5 separate regions of the Homo sapiens genome follow, and all the other regions are linked to region 1. Evidence: promoter capture Hi-C in 16 types of primary human blood cells and fetal thymus (Javierre and others, 2016). All regions are on one chromosome and are shown on one strand. Each heading gives the region's core, a stretch centred on a gene start or on the middle of the fragment in contact. The rest is flanking DNA. Distances are from core to core; before and after follow the strand shown. Region 1 holds the start of BCL11B (BCL11 transcription factor B). Region 2 has its middle 70 kb from the start of PAPOLA. Region 3 has its middle 97 kb from the start of PAPOLA. Region 4 overlaps LINC02299 (long intergenic non-protein coding RNA 2299). Region 5 has its middle 36 kb from the start of LINC00618.

What was found. The method cuts DNA at HindIII sites, captures the fragments that hold promoters and counts their contacts. A CHiCAGO score of 5 or more calls a contact.
Region 2: a fragment that was not itself captured here is called in contact with the fragment with the promoter of BCL11B in region 1 in 1 of 17 cell types (endothelial precursors); the score reaches 5.7 in endothelial precursors.
Region 3: a fragment that was not itself captured here is called in contact with the fragment with the promoter of BCL11B in region 1 in 1 of 17 cell types (endothelial precursors); the score reaches 10.2 in endothelial precursors.
Region 4: a contact is called between a fragment that was not itself captured here and the fragment with the promoter of BCL11B in region 1, in 1 of 17 cell types (endothelial precursors). The highest score is 7.5, in endothelial precursors.
Region 5: a contact is called between a fragment that was not itself captured here and the fragment with the promoter of BCL11B in region 1, in 1 of 17 cell types (endothelial precursors). The highest score is 5.4, in endothelial precursors.

What each region holds. Positions count from the first base shown.
Region 1 is chr14:99,270,420-99,273,911 of GRCh38, forward strand. It overlaps BCL11B (BCL11 transcription factor B), which reads right to left and starts at 1,778. Exons shown (of 4, transcript NM_138576.4): 1 at 742-1,778. The coding sequence starts at 799. RefSeq lists a silencer at 1,625-1,704. The HindIII fragment of the contact is 13,366 bases long and covers 1-3,492 here.
Region 2 is chr14:96,570,526-96,574,017 of GRCh38, forward strand. No RefSeq gene overlaps it. Among named protein-coding and RNA genes, the nearest start is that of PAPOLA, 70 kb to the left of the region's middle. The HindIII fragment of the contact is 4,574 bases long and covers 1-3,492 here.
Region 3 is chr14:96,598,061-96,601,552 of GRCh38, forward strand. No RefSeq gene overlaps it. Among named protein-coding and RNA genes, the nearest start is that of PAPOLA, 97 kb to the left of the region's middle. The HindIII fragment of the contact is 1,597 bases long and covers 1,057-2,653 here.
Region 4 is chr14:96,759,231-96,762,722 of GRCh38, forward strand. The region is part of intron 3 of LINC02299 (long intergenic non-protein coding RNA 2299); the gene reads left to right. Among named protein-coding and RNA genes, the nearest start is that of LINC02299, 20 kb to the left of the region's middle. The HindIII fragment of the contact is 1,799 bases long and covers 997-2,795 here.
Region 5 is chr14:96,905,355-96,908,846 of GRCh38, forward strand. No RefSeq gene overlaps it. Among named protein-coding and RNA genes, the nearest start is that of LINC00618, 36 kb to the right of the region's middle. The HindIII fragment of the contact is 629 bases long and covers 1,414-2,042 here.

The sequences.
Region 1 (3,492 bases), core at 528-3,027:
TTTTTTGAAGTGGGGGAAAGAAGACAAGATCATCCCAGGAGACAGACGGAGGTGGGGAAGTGGGGGGTGGGGAGGGGGGCTTGAGCCCGGCAAACAGCCGCGCAGCTGGATTATTTTGCAAATAGCAGGAGGAGGGGAGAGAAAGGCGGCTGCGGAATCCTAGGACTGGCGCGGCCGGCACCCTGCTGGGCCGGGCGCAGGGACCGGGGACCCGGAGCCGGCGGCCGCCCCTGGCCCTACGGCTCCCCCAGCCGGAACGCACCCCGCTCTCCTCCGCCCGCGCCGTCAGCGCGGACCCACGCGCTCGCCAACTTTTCCCCACTTCCCGGCTCCCCCTCCCCCTCCGCTCCCCCAGCCCCCTCCCCCTCCTCTCCAAACCCCGCCACCAGCGCCGCCGCCGCCACACACGCCGCTCGGAGGGGCGAGCGTCCAGCCGGGCTCGGCGCGCACACACACACACTCCTCCAGCCTGCATGCCCCCTCCCCGGCCCGGAGCCGGCTCCGCAGGCCCCCGAGCCCGAGGCGCGTCCGGCTGCTCGGCGCCCCAACTCCCCGGGCTGCAAAGAAACTTTCCTATGGCCCCCGCCCCCCGCCATGCTCCAGGCCGACGCCGTAGACTCTGCCAGCCAGCGGGCGGCCCCGGCGCCTGGCCAGGCTCGGCTGTTCCGGGCTCGGTGTCCCCAGCCCCAGACGCCCGGAGCCCCATCTCCGGCCCCTCGCGCGCACTCCGCAGACACTTACGGGTGATGAGCTCCCTCTGGGACAAGTGCTGCGGGTTGCCCTGTTTGCGGCGGGACATTGCCCCGGCATCTATTCTGGCATCGCCCGGAGAGCTGCACTGATGGGGGGAGCCGGGGGAGGGGGTCCGAGCCGCCGCCGCGCCGCTGCCGCCGCTGCCGCCGCCGCCGCCGCCGCCGCACCTCCTCCTCTGCCCGGGTTGGTGTTTTTTTTCCCTTCCTCTCTTTCCCTCTCTTCCTCCTCTTCTTCTTCTTTATTTTGCTCTTTCTTCTATGCTGTTTTTTGTTTTGTTTGCAAAAAGAAAAAAAAGGGAAGAAAAGCAAGAAAAACCTCTCGATCTAAAATAAGAAAAAGAGGCAAAAAAAAAAAAAACTGCTGTTGCTTTCCGCGGACTGGCTGGTTTCTTTAAAAATATATTCTTTCGAAGGAAAAAAAATCTCTTACACTTCTTCAAACTGCTTGGCCTCTTGCACTTGCAAATGTCTTCTTGAACTTAAACTGGGTTTTGCACCGGCTCCTGACACTTTCTTTCAGGGTCTGGTAGGTGGAAAGCGCACTTCTACCAGGAGGGGAAAAAAAATGCAAACAAATAAAAAAATAAAAGAAGAAAAAGCAAAGGAAAAAAAAAAGCAAAGAAAACTTGGGGACTTGTCTCGTACCCCCTCACCCCGCCCCCTCAAAAAACCCAAAGCAATGTAAAACTGCCCCGGTTCGGTTGTTTCTGGGTTTTCTGCGGGCTGCCTGTTTTTGTTTTTGTTTTTGTTTTTTCTCGGAGACTGACCCTTCCGAGGCTCTGGGGGGACACCAGGAGAGGCTCCTTCCCAGTTCACCTGGCAGGCTGGCGCCGGCCGGAGGGGCTGCCGAGTCCCCGCGAGCGCTCCCCAGCGCTCCCCTGGCGCCGCGGGCCCGGGGGGAGCGGGGCGGAGGGGCGGCTCGCCCAGTGCGCCTGGGTCGGTGCGGGCGCAGACTGGGAGCTATAGATTGCAACGTGAAGATGGCGGAGTCCGGGTTCTCTGGGAGCTCTCGGTCTCTCTATGGCTGGGGCTGCCTCTGTACAATGGGATAAAATTCAAGTTCAAGTGCGGACGTGACGTTTAATCTGCACTAGAGACAAAAAGACCCAGAGAGTCGGAGCACTGGGGGCGACTAGCGGTGGCTTTTTAACATTGTACCCTGTAAGAGAACAAGAAAGCACACACAGAGACACACTCGCGCGCGCGCGCACACTCACACACACACACACACAGTCGCCAGTTGCGCACACCCGCAGCCCAAGCCGGACACACGTGCAAACCGCGTTTTTGTGCGCTCATCTCCCCCGAGCCCCGGCTGCGCAACAGCGGGAGGGGGTTGGGGGGGGCCACTGGGCAGCTTATTTTAAAATAAAAGAAAAATCGTCCTTATATCTCCTCCATCCTGGGAGCAGGACCCCCTGAGAAGGGGGGCGGGGTGCTGTGTGAGTGAACTAAATTGAATCAATGCAAGTCTCCACCCACCCAAAAGCTCTTTCGGACTTGGACTTTGGGGGTGGGGGCGTGGACTGTGGAAAAGGGTTGGGGTCGACATGGGAGTTGGGGGGACAGTAAGAATCGCTTCGTTTCCCTGGAAAAGTCGCTTGGTAGTTTTTACTTTTGTTTTATGGTCGCGGGCGGCGAGGGGAGGGGAGTAGATGTTGGAGTTCAACTTCCAAAAAGTGTCTCCATATAAATCCTGGTATTACAGACTCTGGGAGGGTGAGGATGACAAAATAAACGACACTAAGACAACAGAATCAAGAGCACGTGAGGGGGTGAGAAGTGTTTGAGACCTTGTTTGAGTCCCACTTGGAAAAGGATTTTCACTCAAATCTTTGTCCCCTCCCCTCACCTTACCCCGATTAACTCCTGGGGTCAAACACGACCCCACCTCCTAAACTGGGTCTATGGCAAGCGAGAGGGTAAAGGGACCGGGGCGCTCCACGTGGGAGAGGGACTTGGACTTGCCAGCCCAGGAGTAGGTGTGGCCAAATCTCCGCAGATACTCGGGTGGGTGACTCCAGGAGGCGCCCCTGACAATCACAGCAACCTGGAAGTCACACCCCGCCCCCCGCGCTCCTCGGCCCAGGGTAGGACTTGGAAATGCCTGTCAGACTGGGAAGGACGCAGCTGCCTTGTCAGCCGTTTGATCTCCAACCGGCGAGGACAAGAGGAGTTGTGGGGCCTCTCCGTGGCCCGGGGACAAGGCCAGACCACGGCCCCCGTGGACACCCCCCATTCCCCAGGCTGTGGCCAACTTTGTCAATTTGATGACCTGGCCTCCAGGGCTGGGCGCGCCACGCGGCTGGCCTCCTCTCCCTTCTCAGGGTTTCTCTGGAGGCGGCCAGGGCGGGTCGGGGCCTGGCTCCGGCTAGGCTTCGCGGGCGAGTCCAGCTGCACCCACCCCACTCCGCCCCCAGGCCTGGCTCCGGCGGCTTCACCCGGGCGCATGGCGAGGCCGTGACGCCTCAGCGCCGCCTCCCTCGGGGCCTTTTCCTCGGGGGGCACACGGGGGTTTTTGTTTTCGTCCCGAAGGTCTTGGGTGGGGCGATGGCACCAACAATTTAACAGCGCCCAGAGTCCGTGAGCGAGAACAGAAAGAGATCCCTTCCAGTCCCATACCCTAAAAAATAATAACAATAAAATGTGCCCTGGCTTGCAGTTCTGTAAACTGTGGGCTCCACGGTGGGCGGACGCGAGGCCGAGCGGATGGAGACCGGGGGCGGGGCGCGGACTTGCA
Region 2 (3,492 bases), core at 485-2,984, 2.7 Mb before region 1:
TTTGCGTTTTCTGACTGCAGTGGAGCTGTTAATAAAGAGATTGATGATAAAGTTGTCGAAAAGAGACAGTTGGGCAGAACTGCTCCCCATGAGTGACAGAGGGCATGATCTGCCTTCACAGCCAAGAAAGTTGCCCCCAGCTGAGAACCGACCATGCCTGGACACTGTGCCAAGACTGTTAGGGGAACTTTACTGCACTATTAGGCTACTACCTCTCTCTCTGTCGCTTTGGCTTACTTCACATTACCATTTTTTTCCTTAAGTTCTTGAGATGCTCAGGACAAATCTCTGCATATACAACACACACTTTCCAACTGTAAAATAATTATTTTTGAAAATTATTTAAAGCACTCAGTTCATCCTAATTTGGCTTTTATAGTAAAATAGTACAAGTTTTAAAAGTATTACTACAGTTTTCATACAAAGCCTGCCTCAAGAATAAGCATTGGCTTCAATAAGCATTGGTTATGGGATATTAGACATTTTAGCCATACTTATTGTAACTGTATTTTTCATCTATCACTGTTTGTAAACTTAGGCTACTGGCATCCAATTTAGCTGTTCATGTTTTGTGTGGTCTCCTTGATAACCTGTAAGATTTTTTTGGCTCTCTTTAATGCGACTTTAAAGGTACAAATTTTTCCTGTAATTTTTAAGCTGTGTTAGGTTACATGTTTTTCACTTAGGTTTTCTTAAATATGAGACTATTTTAGTAGACTTCTCTTTTGAGGAAACTGATACCATTGTGGCCTTTGTCATGTTGAATGACCCAAACGTGAACACTTTGGTTTCTTAACAATGAAAATTCTCGTAAAGCTAGTTTTCCAAGCATGGTCTTTGTCATCTGCCTAAATTGTTGAATAACTTTTTTTTTTCCTTGAAAATAACCAGTCTTCTTTAAAAATTTACATTTAAAATGTTTAAATTTTAAAGTCTCAAAGTAGAAGGCACCTAATGAGCCTTCTCGTTCATTTTGTCTGTGACGGCCTCTGCTCAACCATTTCCATTGAGAGAGGAGTCTGTATTTCATGTTGCCATCTCTAGGCAGCAGTTGAAGTTTTAGCTTGGCTCAAGGCGATTTTCTTAATCCCCATAGTCTCCTTAGAAGCCAGTTATGACCCATCTCTACTTCATTTAACAGGGGACCTCAAAACATTACTCAGGAGTCACTAGCTGGTTTTCTTATCCAAAGTCAGATGTAGGGATGTGTTTTATAGCTAGAGTATGTTAGCACATCACTCATTCCCTGTTATTTGAGTAGTGGTAGTCTAACACCACTCATTCTCTAGGAACCACACACCTGAAGAGGGGAATAAGGTTAAGCTCGTGTCCTCGGATATATCGTAATCAGGATAAATCCCCCAAGTGAAGTAGTACCTGTGGGTGTAGTGGAGCAACTTGTACATTAGGGCGATACCAGGTTTTCTCAGTAGGCTTTTGCGAGGTTTATGGTGAGCATGAGCTATTGCTAAGCTAGAAATCCACTGATAGGAAGATAAAAGCAGTAATTTGCAATAGATGAAGAAACTATCAAGTGACATCAAAGATCATGTAATTTCTCTCTACTTCTGTCCATCTCGTAAAGTGTGTTCTTGCTATTCTGTATTATTTGTTCTACTGACTCACTTTTGATATGGGAAGAGGTAAGATGGAATGTCTTACAGGACTCTGGTTTAGTGAACTGAACTGTAGCATGTTGAGAGCATGTTTTCTGAGGCCAGATTTGTTCTCAGAGACCTCCAAAGAAGGGTTTCCTCTGCCAGACTTACCAGGGTTGGCTTTTGAAAGGAGAGTTCTAGTCATGGACTCTAAATCATAATCCCTAGAAGATAGACTTGGGATGGGTAGAAGAAAGGTGAGCTGCAAGGACTCCTGGTATTTTCTTAGCTCCCCCTTGGCCTTGTAGCACCTTTTTTTTTTTTTTTTTTTGAGACAGAGTCTTGCTGTGTCGCCCAGGCTGGAGTACAGTGGCACAATCTTGGCTCATTACAGCCTCTGCCTCCTGAGTTCAAGTGATTCTCGTGCTTCAGCCTCCCAAGTAGCAGGGATTACAGGTATGCACCACCACACCTGGCTAATTTTTGTGTTTTTAGTTGAGATAGGGTTTCTCCATGTTGGCCAGGCTGGTCTTGAACTCCTGGCCTCAGGCAGTTTGCCTGCTTCGGCCTCCCAAAGTGTTGGTATTACAGGTGTGAGCCACTGCACCTGGCCCCTTGCGGTACTTTATGAAGAGCTTTGAATTTGGCTGTTAACCAAACAGGCTGTAGGAAAACACGAAAATCTTCATTTTCAGAAAGGTTTGAAGTAGAATTTTCACATGTTAGGAACAGAATTTTTAAAGAAGGGTAGTATAACTGGGATGTGGGGAAACAAGTATTGAACAGTAAGGTGAGGCCAGAAGCCTAGAGAAAATAATTAGTAATATGGCTAGTAAGTGGCTAAACCACATAAATTAGCATGACTCCATTAATTCTGAATTCTTTGGAAATTCTTGTTTGTAATCTTATTTTGATCACCACTCAGGATCATAATATCCAAAGCATTGGAGCTTCCATGAAGGAAGGATTAGAAGTTGAAGCACCTTAGAGGCTCTGACTTGAGTGGTGTTTTACTTGAAACCTGCTATATTGGTTTAACATGGGGGGAGAATACAGGGAGTTTGAGGCATGCCCGGATGTTAGGGCCAATTAGAAGACTGGGGCCTCTTGGAAAATAAGTGGTCTATGTAGGCCTTTTGTTGAGTGGAAGGGAAATGGCATTGGCATTGTGATAAAGATGCATGGAAAATAAGAGGTCTGGGCATTTTGCTGAGTGGAAAGGGGATGGCATTGGCATTGTGGTACGGATGCCTAATTTCTGGTTGTTAAGAATTAAATTCCATAGGATACATCATTTGCTGGGTTTGGCACATGCTAGAAATATTCAGCAAAGTTGCCCATCAGGCAGTTCATCTTGACTGCCATTTTATCATATCAGCTGAATTAAAACATTTAGTACACAACTTTCTGTGTGTAGCGGAAAGAATGCCTGTTTTCAAGGCAGAGCTGCATTCAGGTCTTAGCTTCAGCACTTACTAGCTATTGAGCTCATGCAGTTACAGCATTTTCTTTGAAGCTCGTATTCCTTTTCAGTGGAGATGAGCAATGTCCTTTTAAGGTGATTGTGAGGATAAAAGGTAAGTAAGTGAAGAGCCTCATACTGCAGCTGTTACTACTGTGTCCTGATGCTCTCTGAGCATTCACCCTTCAGCGCTCATTGGCTTAAATGTTCTAACTAACAATTCTTCCTTACTTGGGATAGCCAAGGTGATCTGTGGCTATTTGAACTTTGGTCCAGGTTAGAATTGAGGAAAGCTAACACTGGAAAGAGGTTGAATGCTTGAGATTCCATTAAAGTTTGTGTCACGTCATCCTGGTTGGGGATTTTGTTTGTAAACAACGTATTTCAGCCTAACACTGTCACCAACTAGTTTCTTGAAATTTTGCATATCTA
Region 3 (3,492 bases), core at 605-3,104, 2.7 Mb before region 1:
TGCCCCTCTAGGTTCCTTCCCCCTCCTCTTCCCCCTTCTCCCTCTTCCTCCTCCTCTCCTCTTCCCCCTCCTCTCCTCTCCCCCTCCTCTCCCTTTCTCCTGCCCCTCTAGGTTCCTTCCCCCTCCTCTTCCCCATTGTCCCTCTTCCTTCTCCTCTCCTCTTCCCCTTCCTCTCCTCTCCCCCCTCCTCTCCTCTCCCCCTCCTCTGCTCTGCCCCTCCTCTCCCTTTCTCCTGCCCCTCTAGGTTCCTTCCCCCTCCTATTCCCCCATCTCCCTCCTCCTCCCTCCCTCCTCCTCCCTCCGTCTTCCTCCTCCTCCTCCCTTCCTCCCCTCCTCTCCCCTTCTCCTGCCCCTCTAGGTTTCTTCCTCCTCCTCCCCACCTCCTTCTCTACCTCCTCCCCTTCCCTCTCTCCAGCCTCCCCGGGGTAGATGGGCTCTGGAGACCTCTTCTCTCTCTAGAGGTGTCTGCTAGAGTCTACAGGACCCGCCACCCACAGCCCCTCATGCTAACACAGGCCCAGCTGAGGCATTCTGGTTATGACGGAGCTGTCCAGTTGCCTGGAAAGGGCTGACAGCAGACACAGCCCTGGTCGGGCAGAGCAAGTCCCCGGCCAGCTGGTGAGGGGATGGGCCCGAGCCAGGTAATTATTGCCTGGTGCAGAGGTCGAAAGCCGCAGAGCGGCTGATGTACTAACGAAACACAAATGGGACATCTGTGTTCAGGAGTTCAGCAAACCATGGAAAACCCAGCTTTGCCAAGAGTTTATCTACTACTGAGATCAGGGACACTCCTGCAGCTAAGGGAGCAGTGCGCACACCAGAAGCCGTTTCCCCTGCTGCTCCACTTTCCCCTGCTGCTCCGCACACCCTTTATCTAGGGGCATGGCAACTTTTTCTTCCCTGGGAAATTGTTGGAGCTGGAAGTGTGTTCACCTGTGGAGCGCCCTTTCCTGGTAGTTTGGAAAGCCCTGATGCCAGGCCTTTGGATGCGCTCCTGGGGAGGGATGGTGGTGAGGGTGTGTTTGCCTCCCCACAGGTCTGGATCCGCTTGGTCCAAGCTTACCACTTGGTCTGAGCAGATTGGGGCCTTTGCCTTCCCAAGCAGCACCAACACAGGGCATGTGGACACCTCTGAAGGCAGAGCCAAGAGGGCCCCAGGAAGGGGCCGAGTCCACACGTTTACCAAGCAGATTGTCAGAAAGAGGAGTGAGGGGGTGCCTAGAAACTGGGGTTCTCTCAGACCTGCATGCACGGCCAGCGCAACCTCTACACGTCACATGCCTGCTGGGCCCCAGGTCACACCTGTAAAATGAGAGCGTGGCTGAGGGCCGTGTGTTCATTCGGACTCAAGCAACAGAAACCGACTCTGTCTTATCTGACAAAAACAAAAAAAGAGTCTCCTGGCAGGAAGTGAGGGTGTTTTGTGGACTACAGGAGGCACTGGCCCAGGAAGAATAGGTAGCCGTGGGGACTGGGGCAGCAGGAGGCGGTGGCCGTCTTCTGGGGGCCCAGCCCTTACAGGACTCAACTTCAGTGCCCACTGCCCTGTGTCTTGGTACCACCAGGTGTCAATTCCCAAACTCTGGTGGGCAGACTCTTTGGCCCATCCACTTGGGTGTCTTTCCAGTGCATGGGTGGGGGATACTCAGGACCTGGACTGCACAGGGTGCTACTTCTGGAAGAGGGGGAAATTGCAGAGAGCCAGCCAACCATGACATGAATACTGCAGCATCGTGACGTGCAACTACAAATGGGTGTGCCTATCTCATTGGGGTCCAAAGCCAGGACAGCCAAGGCCCTAGCCTGGCTCTGCACTCCTGAATCTGTGCCTCACTCGCAGCCCCCACTTACCCTGGGGCCATGCTTGAGCTGGGGACCAATGCTTTAGGAAGCACACTGCAACTGCAGTCCACATTTGCCCTCAGGAGGCTGCTGCTTCTATAACCACGATGGCTAACGCATGCTGGGGGCCCAACCCTAGCACCTCCCAGATTGTTTGCTAGGTGCCAATTACGGGACTGGGGTCTTAGCTGACAGTTGCTGTGGCTCATGGCAGTGGCATCAGGACCCACCTACCCCTCCCCCCGCTCTGCCAGCTAATGGTGGCCAAGTAGGGATGGGGGTTGGCTTTCCTGAGGCTGAGGCTGAGTCTGGGCTGTGTGGCCCTCCCCAGGCAGCAGGGCGTGAGAGTCAAGCCATGCTGAAACTGCCCCATGAGCTGAGGCTGTACTTCCAGCAGGGCCTGTGCAAGTGCTGGTCTTAGAGGGGCCAGAGTGTGGTCCACAGTCAGGAACGTGAGGCCAAGAGATGGATCTTGAGAGATCCAACTCTTTGTTGAGAGGTGGATCACAGCAGAAGGAGATCAGGAGTGAGGGGTGGGTTGGTAGGACAGCTGACTCACCCTCCTGGGGCCAGTGACCTCCTTCCTCCACTCCTTTCCCAGTTGGTTGTAATCCCTAGGCTGTGTAGGAGGATTCATGCGATCATCTCAGGCATTTTCCAAGAAAGGAATTTTGCCAGGCCATGCGTTTGACTGGAGGCCTGGGGTCACAGGCAATGAGGCCACCAAAGTCTGCTTCCGCCTGAGGGGTTGGGAACCAGTGGCTCTTGGGTGTGAAGCACCAAGGACAAGACTGTTCATTTTTCCTGATCAAGCTTTTACCAATGGTATTCCTATTTTCTCAGCATCATTAGGAAATGCTAACAAGTAAGAATGCCTTGCAAGTAAATGAGAAAATTCACCTGCAAAGCTATTTCATAAGCAGGTGTGGCAGACATTCTTGTTGCTCACTCCAAATTCACTCCCCCACTTCCCTGCTGGCGGAGTCTGATTTTCTCAGGCTCCACCCTCTTCCACCTGGCTGGGCTTCAGGTAAGTTGTGTTTGGTCTATGGTTCCCATTCCCCCGACATTGAAGCTGGTCTGAGGTTGGCCACCTCAGGGTCTTTTGTGTGTGGTCATGAAAATCCTCAGTGCTTAAATCTCTTTTTTTCTTTTTCCATAGGTTATTGGGGTATAGGTGGTGTTTGGTTACATAAGTCAGTTCTTTAGTGGTGATTTGTGAGATTTTGGTGCACCCATCACCCGAGCAGTATACACTGCACCCTATTTGCAGTCTTTTGTCTCTTACCCCCTTCCACCCTTCCCCCCAAGTCCCCAAAGTCCATTGTATCATTCTTATGCCTTTGCATCCTTATAGCTTAGCTCCCACATATCAGTGAGAATATACAATGTTTGGTTTTCCATTCCTGAGTGACTTCACTTAGAAGAATAGTCTCCAATCTCACCCAGGTCACCGCGAATGCCGTTACTTCATTCCTTTTTATGGCTGAGTAGTATTCCATCATATATATCTATATCACAGTTTCTTTATCCACTCGTTGATTGATGAGCATTTGGGTTGGTTCCACGATTTTGCAATTGTGGATTGTGCTGCTATAAACATGCGTGTGCAAGTATCTTTTTCACATAATGACTTCTTTTCCTCTGGGT
Region 4 (3,492 bases), core at 646-3,145, 2.5 Mb before region 1:
AGGCTTTGAACATATCTAAAAAAAGGAGACTTTTATATTAGTCAAGGACACAGGGCAAAGCCACAAAGCAATATCAAAAATAAGGGCGACTACATGCTGGGGGTCAGAAAACCAGCACTCTTTCCACGATGAAAGCAACTTGGTTCTTGAGATTCCAGTTATTCCAGTCTGGAGTGCAGTGTAAGTGGTATGAATTCCCTCATCCATGTGATAATGCCTCCTTCGATGTATTCATTCATTCACCTGGGCATCCACCCCTTAATCTGTTCACTTAGTCAACCATCCAACAGGTCGTACCCACACCAATGTCAGTTAGGGCAAAGCTGCTATGCCTGCTAGAGGCTAGGAGAGAAATTCTCAGGGTAGAGAAATGGTTAAAATAAATCAAAATAAAATCTGAGTTGGCCGTGGTGCTTATTCTTAATGACACACAGGAAACTATAAACCAGCCATGCTACATAATTGACCACTGAGGATTTTTCACTCTCAGTCAGTTTGAGATGTACCGAATCCAATATCACATCAGTGATTTGATTTGTTAATAATCAAATTGCAAATACCTTTTCATTTGGCTTCAAAAAGCAAACAGCCATTCGGAATAATTTTTATGGGTCTTGGAATGCAATATAAACTTAAAATATTGTGTTTGCAAGTCCTATTGGCATGACCGTATTATAATTTATATTGGCCTATTTTGATGTACAGTGGCATAATGAAACTTTAAAAAATATATTTTGCAAAGCTGCATCTAAGCCCAAGCCGGCAGCACAGATTAATGTAAGAACAGCATGGGGATTCTTTGCATATTTTTTTTTTACGGAGATTTCTAGAGAACATTCTACTCACCAAAACTTTAACCTAAGCAAGATTTGCAAAGATTTTCAGAATCCGTCTCTTGTCACATTTCCAGGCACACTGCCTGATGCCTTTCTTCCTGCCTCACTCTTCCCCATCTCATACATCCCCTGTCCTGCCCTCCTATTTGCAATTTTATGAAGCTTTTGTGTGTATACATGTTTGCATTCTGTTTCTATTCCCTCCATCTATAATGCCCTTCTTCCCGTCTCTGCTTGGAGGATATCTCTTAGACATTCTTCAGCTCCTGGCTAACATGCTATCCCTGCTGGGAACCTTCTCTGACACCCCCAGAAGTTATTACTTCCATTCTTCCACAGCAGTTGAAAAGGAACTCTGTTACAGCTCTTGTCATAATGTGTTACTGTTATTTGTTTACATGCACAAACTCTGAAGTCCTTGACAGCCTGACCATGATATATTCAATTCAAAAACCCCAGTGCCTACCACCATGCCTGGTGCATAATACATGCTCTGTAAATGTTTGTGTAATGGTGCTGTGGATGAATGAGTGGGTAGATGGATGGATAAATGGAAAGATGGATGGAAGGATGAGGAGGTAGCGAATGAATGAATGGGTGCAAGGAAGGATGGGTGGGCTGTTGGACAGATAGGTGGATGGATGGATGGCTGGGTGGGTGGATGAATGATGGGTTGGTGGATAGATTGACAGAACAGATCCTCCTGGAGGATAATGCTTTCCCTGACATTGGAAGCATTTAAGCACAGGTTATAGAGAGACTTCAGGACCTAAATGTGTTGTTAGACAAATTAATCTATTAGATGTTTCCAACAAAAAAAGCCCTTGATTCCACCATGTTCCTGTAGAGCTACGCTTCAGCACAGAATTGCAGTAGAGGCTTACTTTACTTTTAAAGCCTGTTTTTTGTTTGTTTGCTTTTTGTTTTTTGGAGACAGGGTCTTCCTCTTCTGCTCAGGCTGGAGTGCAATGGCACAGTCATAGCTCACTGGATCCTTGAACTCCTGGGCTCAAGTGATCCTCCCACTTCAGCCTCCTGAGTAGCTGAGACTACAGGTGTGCAGCAACAAGCCTGGCCAGTTTTATTTTATTTTATTTTTGTAGAGTCGGGGTCTCACTGTGTTGCCTGGGCTGGTCTTTAACTCCTGGCCTCAAGCAATCCTCCTGCCTCAGCCTCCCAAAGCACTGGGATTACAGGCATGAGCCACGGCGCCCAGCGAAGCCTATTTTTCGAAAAGGGTCAGGGAAGGCCTCATTAACAAGATAACATTAAAACAGAGGCCTGGGGGAAGAACAGCCAGGCCTAGGGAACAGCAAGAGCTGAGCCTGCCTGCAATGTCCAGTAACTGCTAGGAGTGTGGCTGGAACAGAGGGAAAGATTTGAGATCTGACACTTTACGGCTTCTTTTGTGCCTTGCTGAGGGAGGTCTTGCTCACTTGGCATTCTAGAGACTGTTCCCCTATCTTTTAGTCATACACTTTTATAGTTTAGAATTTTACTCTTAGCTGTTTGATTTAACTAGAATCTATTATTGTATATGGTGTGAGGTAAAGTTCTAAAATTATTTCTAAATGGAGGGCCAATTATCTCAAGGTTATTTCTCGAATAGTCTGTGCTCTCCACTAATGTAAGATGCCATCTTTACCACCAACAAAATTGTCATTTATCCAACAGTTCTTTTTTGTATTCTCTCTTATTTCATTGATCTATTTGTCTGTTTCTGTGTCTGTTTCTAGTACTTAAGCTACTAGAACATGTAAGATGTTTGACATTTTTATTCTTCTTGGACTCAAACAGATGGACTTGAAAATCACTTTATCAAGTTCTATAAACTTTTTATTGGGAATACATAACATTTAAAAGTGAATTTGAGGAATACTGACATCTTTATAGCAGAGTACACCATCTACAAATAGTATGCTCTTGATTTTTTTAAAGCTGTCTTATATCATTGAGAAAAGCTTATAGTTTTTTTAAAAAATAGAATGTGCACATTTTTTGTAAAGTTTATTTCTACATATTTGTACTGACAAATGTTATTTTTTTTTTGTGAACAGGATTTTTTTCCTATTATATTTTCCAATTGGTCATTGTGTATAGAAAACCTATTATCAGGATAAATAGCTAATGCATGCGAGGCTTAATATTTAGGTGATGAGTTGATAGGTGCAGCAAACCTCTATGGCACAGGTTTACTTATGTAACAAACCTGCGCATCCTGCACATGTATTCCAGAACTTAAAATTTTTAAAAAAAGTAATAAAAAAGAAAACCTATTATATATATTCCAGAAACTTATTGAAATCTCTTATTCTTTCTAGTGCTTCTTCAGTTAGAAAGCAAATGATCATATTGCCTGCACAAAATGGGAACGTAAATTTCTTGCTTTCTTATATTTATTATTTTATCCCTCTTCTCACCTAATTGCTTTGACTAGTACCTCCAGCAAAATGTCGTATAATAAAGATGATAGCAGGTATCCTTTTCTTGTTCCTGACTTTAATAGGGAGGCTTCTAATGATTCATCGTTGGAAATTATGTTTGTGGGGTTTTAGGGCATAGGCTAAATGGTACAAGAAGACTCCAAAATACTATGGCTTAAATAAGATAGAAGCTAACTGATCTCTTACATAAGAGTTCACAGTGATAGTCCCGG
Region 5 (3,492 bases), core at 478-2,977, 2.4 Mb before region 1:
TTCCCACTGCATTATTATAATTTTTTGCTTTTTGGTTTTCCCCATCCATGCCCCCATGTTGTGAACATCTTGAAGGCAGGTGTTGCTGTATTCATGTCTGTATTTCCAATGCTTGGCATATAGTAGATGTGCAGTAACATGCTTCATGATCCAATTTTGATGAATCTAGTGTCCTCATTTGTTTCTTGTCCTTTTAAACTCACAGGGTCAGGAAAAATGAGAGAAAAGATGTGAGAATTCTGTGATCGTCTGTGTGGTTGCTGCATGCACACACAAATAATGCTGCGATTTCTGTACACTGATAACTGTGTGGACATATCTCATGGGCCATGTTTCTTGAACATTAGTGTGTGGCTGGCACTGAGGGAGTGCCTCAGATCTGTAGAGCTGGTTCCCTTAATGAAATCCACTTCTAGATCCATTGTATAGCTCAACCCTGCCAGAAATACTCCTGTTTAAGTATGATATGTAACAAGTATTATTTGAAAGTCAATTACCAAAAGGACACCACTGCAGAATAAAAAGGAACTAACTGTGGAAAATTAGAAAGCTACTCAGAGCAGTCTTTAGTCTCAATTAGCCACATTTTCCTGTCTTCTAGCAGCTGAACTCAGAGTGTCATTTGAGTAGGAGCTTGGGCCTGGCAGCTCACGGCACTCTGTTGCTTCTGAGGTCCCCAATTATGCAATAATGGTAATCACTGATGGAGGGCTTGGTTGAGAAATGCCTGTTTCCTCATGTCTAGAGCTCAGTAATCATAGGGGAGGAGTATGTCAGCACAGGATTCGTTGATTTCAAATTATTGTTTGAGAAGGAGCTAAGTGAGATCAGGCTTTTACAGACTGGATTGCGGAGGCTGAGGCTTGGGGATGCCACCTTCAGAGGGTGCTACAGGCGGACAGCCCTGACCACTCTCTGAAAGATCTGCTCAAAGCCTGCACTCTGTCCTCCATCCCCAAAAGTTCGAGGGCCATTTGAGACAGAGCAGAAACCTACTTCTGGCATAGCCCACTTGCCACTCAAAATAACTAGTTCTTATCACAGAGGGCTGGGAAGTAAGGATATGGAATGGGACAGGCTGGTTTCCCATTTCTCACACCCAGTAGGGCTTCCAGTCTTTCATCAAATCTGGTCATTAGCAGAGGCCTCCTGAGTTCTCTTTAGATGCCTTTGCCATTTCTGAAATAGCAAGGGCAGTCATAGATTGCAAAAATGGCCACACATTCTTCCCCTCCTATTAAGGGGTGGAGCCTGTTTCTCTACTTCTTGAAGCTGGGTTGGCCATGTGATGTGTTTTGGCCAATGGGACATATTTGCAAAATGATACAAGCAGAAGCTTGAATAGTGCTTGTACACTGGGGTTTGCTTTATCTTTTTGCACTTGGAAACACTGCAGCTGCCACCACATGAACAAGCTTGAATTGATCTGCTGGACGTTGAGAGAGACACATAGCCCAGGTACCCTGTAACCCCAGCTACAGCCAGATAACCATACAACATGCGAGTGAGGTCATTGATTGCCAACTTGAGCAGGAGTGAGCCCAGCCAAGACCAGCAGAAGAACCTCATAGTTGATCAAGATGATCCCAAATTGCCAAACTACAGAGTCATGAGTTAAATAAAAGATTGCTGTTTTAAGTCACTAATTTTGGTGGGCTTGTTATGTAGCAAAAACTGATACATGACTATTATGTTACCATCATGCCAGGTACTGTCCTAAACACCACACGTATGAACTCATTTCATCCTCTCAAAACCTTATGAAGGAGGTACTATTTTCATCCCCATTTTGCAGATGAGGAAGCTGAGATTGAGTGACTTGCACAAGGTTACAAGGCTTGTGTGGGGAACAGGGGCCACACCTGGCAGCCGGGCTATGAAGTCTACACTCCTAACCATTGCACCCACTGCTGCTGTCAGGCAGGTCTGAGAATGTCTCAGCTCTACCCAGACCCTACAGTAGCCACCCCAGTGCCTCAGGAAGCACGCTACACTCCTTGGCATGGGATATAAGGCCTTTCATGATTTCATTTATTCAACAAAGCTTTTACTGAGGTCTACTACATGCAGGCACTGGGGATGTGGCAAAGGAGAAAGCACACAAAAATCCCTGCCCTCATGGATTTTACAGTCTTTGGGGGCAGAAAGAGACAACAAGTAAATAAGCAAAATAATCAGTTTGTTAGGAGGGTGGCTGGAAGGAAGGGCAGATGGACAGTGGCTCGGGGACAGAAGCTCTGTGCCTTGCCTATAGGTCAGACAGAATGGGGGTGTGGCAGAGATGCCTGTGATTGTCTGTCCAGCAAGCCTGCCCCTGTGCTGAGCTCAACCATGCCTGCTCGTCCACACATTTACCTGCAGCCAGTAAGGCCACCTGACTGCCATGTAGCTTCATGGCATGAGATGGGATTTCCCCCTCCCCACTGGTTGGTGCACCGCCTCCCATGTTCTCCCAATATACAGAGCCTCTCTACTTCTTGCAGGCATGGCAGAGCCTCTCTACTTCTTGCAGGTATGGCCCTGGGTTCCAGTTCCTTGGGATTTCTTCTGCCTCCCTTTTCTGGCCTGAACCTTTGATAGGTACATGGAGAAAAAGGCACATCATGGAGAGACCACAAGTTTTGGAGCCTCACACCTGGGCTCAAATCTCAGCTGGTTCTTATAAGCTGTGGGTCCCCAGGCAAGAGAGTTCCCCTTTCTGAACCTTAGTGTCTGCCCTTGTAAAGTGAGGGCAATCTCTCTGCCTTGGCAGTGTCGTGAGGCTAAGCCTATCATGAGGCTAATCCGGTACACAGTAGGTGCTCATAAATGGGAGGTCTCTCTCTCCTGGACTCGATTCCCCATTCCACTCTCTCAGATCCTTGGTTTCCCCATCTCTGCACTACAGATGGTAGGAGTTGTGAGTATTAAATGAGTGTAACATGTGACCTCTCAACTTTTGCAAGACCCCTTTCTTGTTTTTATCATTGTCGTTCTTGTTAATTACTTATGTAGTTACTCCACTTTCTCTCCACTCTCTTCTCCTTTTCTCCTCCCTCCATATAAGCAACTGTTCCAGTAAGTTTTGTGGAAATTACCGTTTTGATTTACATGAACAGTTGTGTGTGTGTGCCCTCTGTCCAGTGCTTCTAGCTGCTACACAGAGCTCCATGGCGTGTCTCTGCTTCATTTTCCCCATTTATGTTAGTCTGTTCTCAGACTGCTATAAAGAAATACCTGAGACTGGGTAATTCATAAATAAAAGGGGTTTAATTGGTTCATGGTTCTACAGGCTGTACAGGAAGCATGGGGGCTGGGGAAGCCTCGAGAAATTTACAATCATGGTGGGAGGTAAAGGGGAAGGAGGCATGTCTTCACATGGCTGGAGCGGGAGGAAGAGGAAGAGCAAGGGGAGGTGCCACACACTTTTAAACAACCAAATCTCAAGAGAACTCTATCACCAGAACAGCACAAAAGGGAGAAAACCGCCCCTGTTTTAGTCCGTTCTCACAC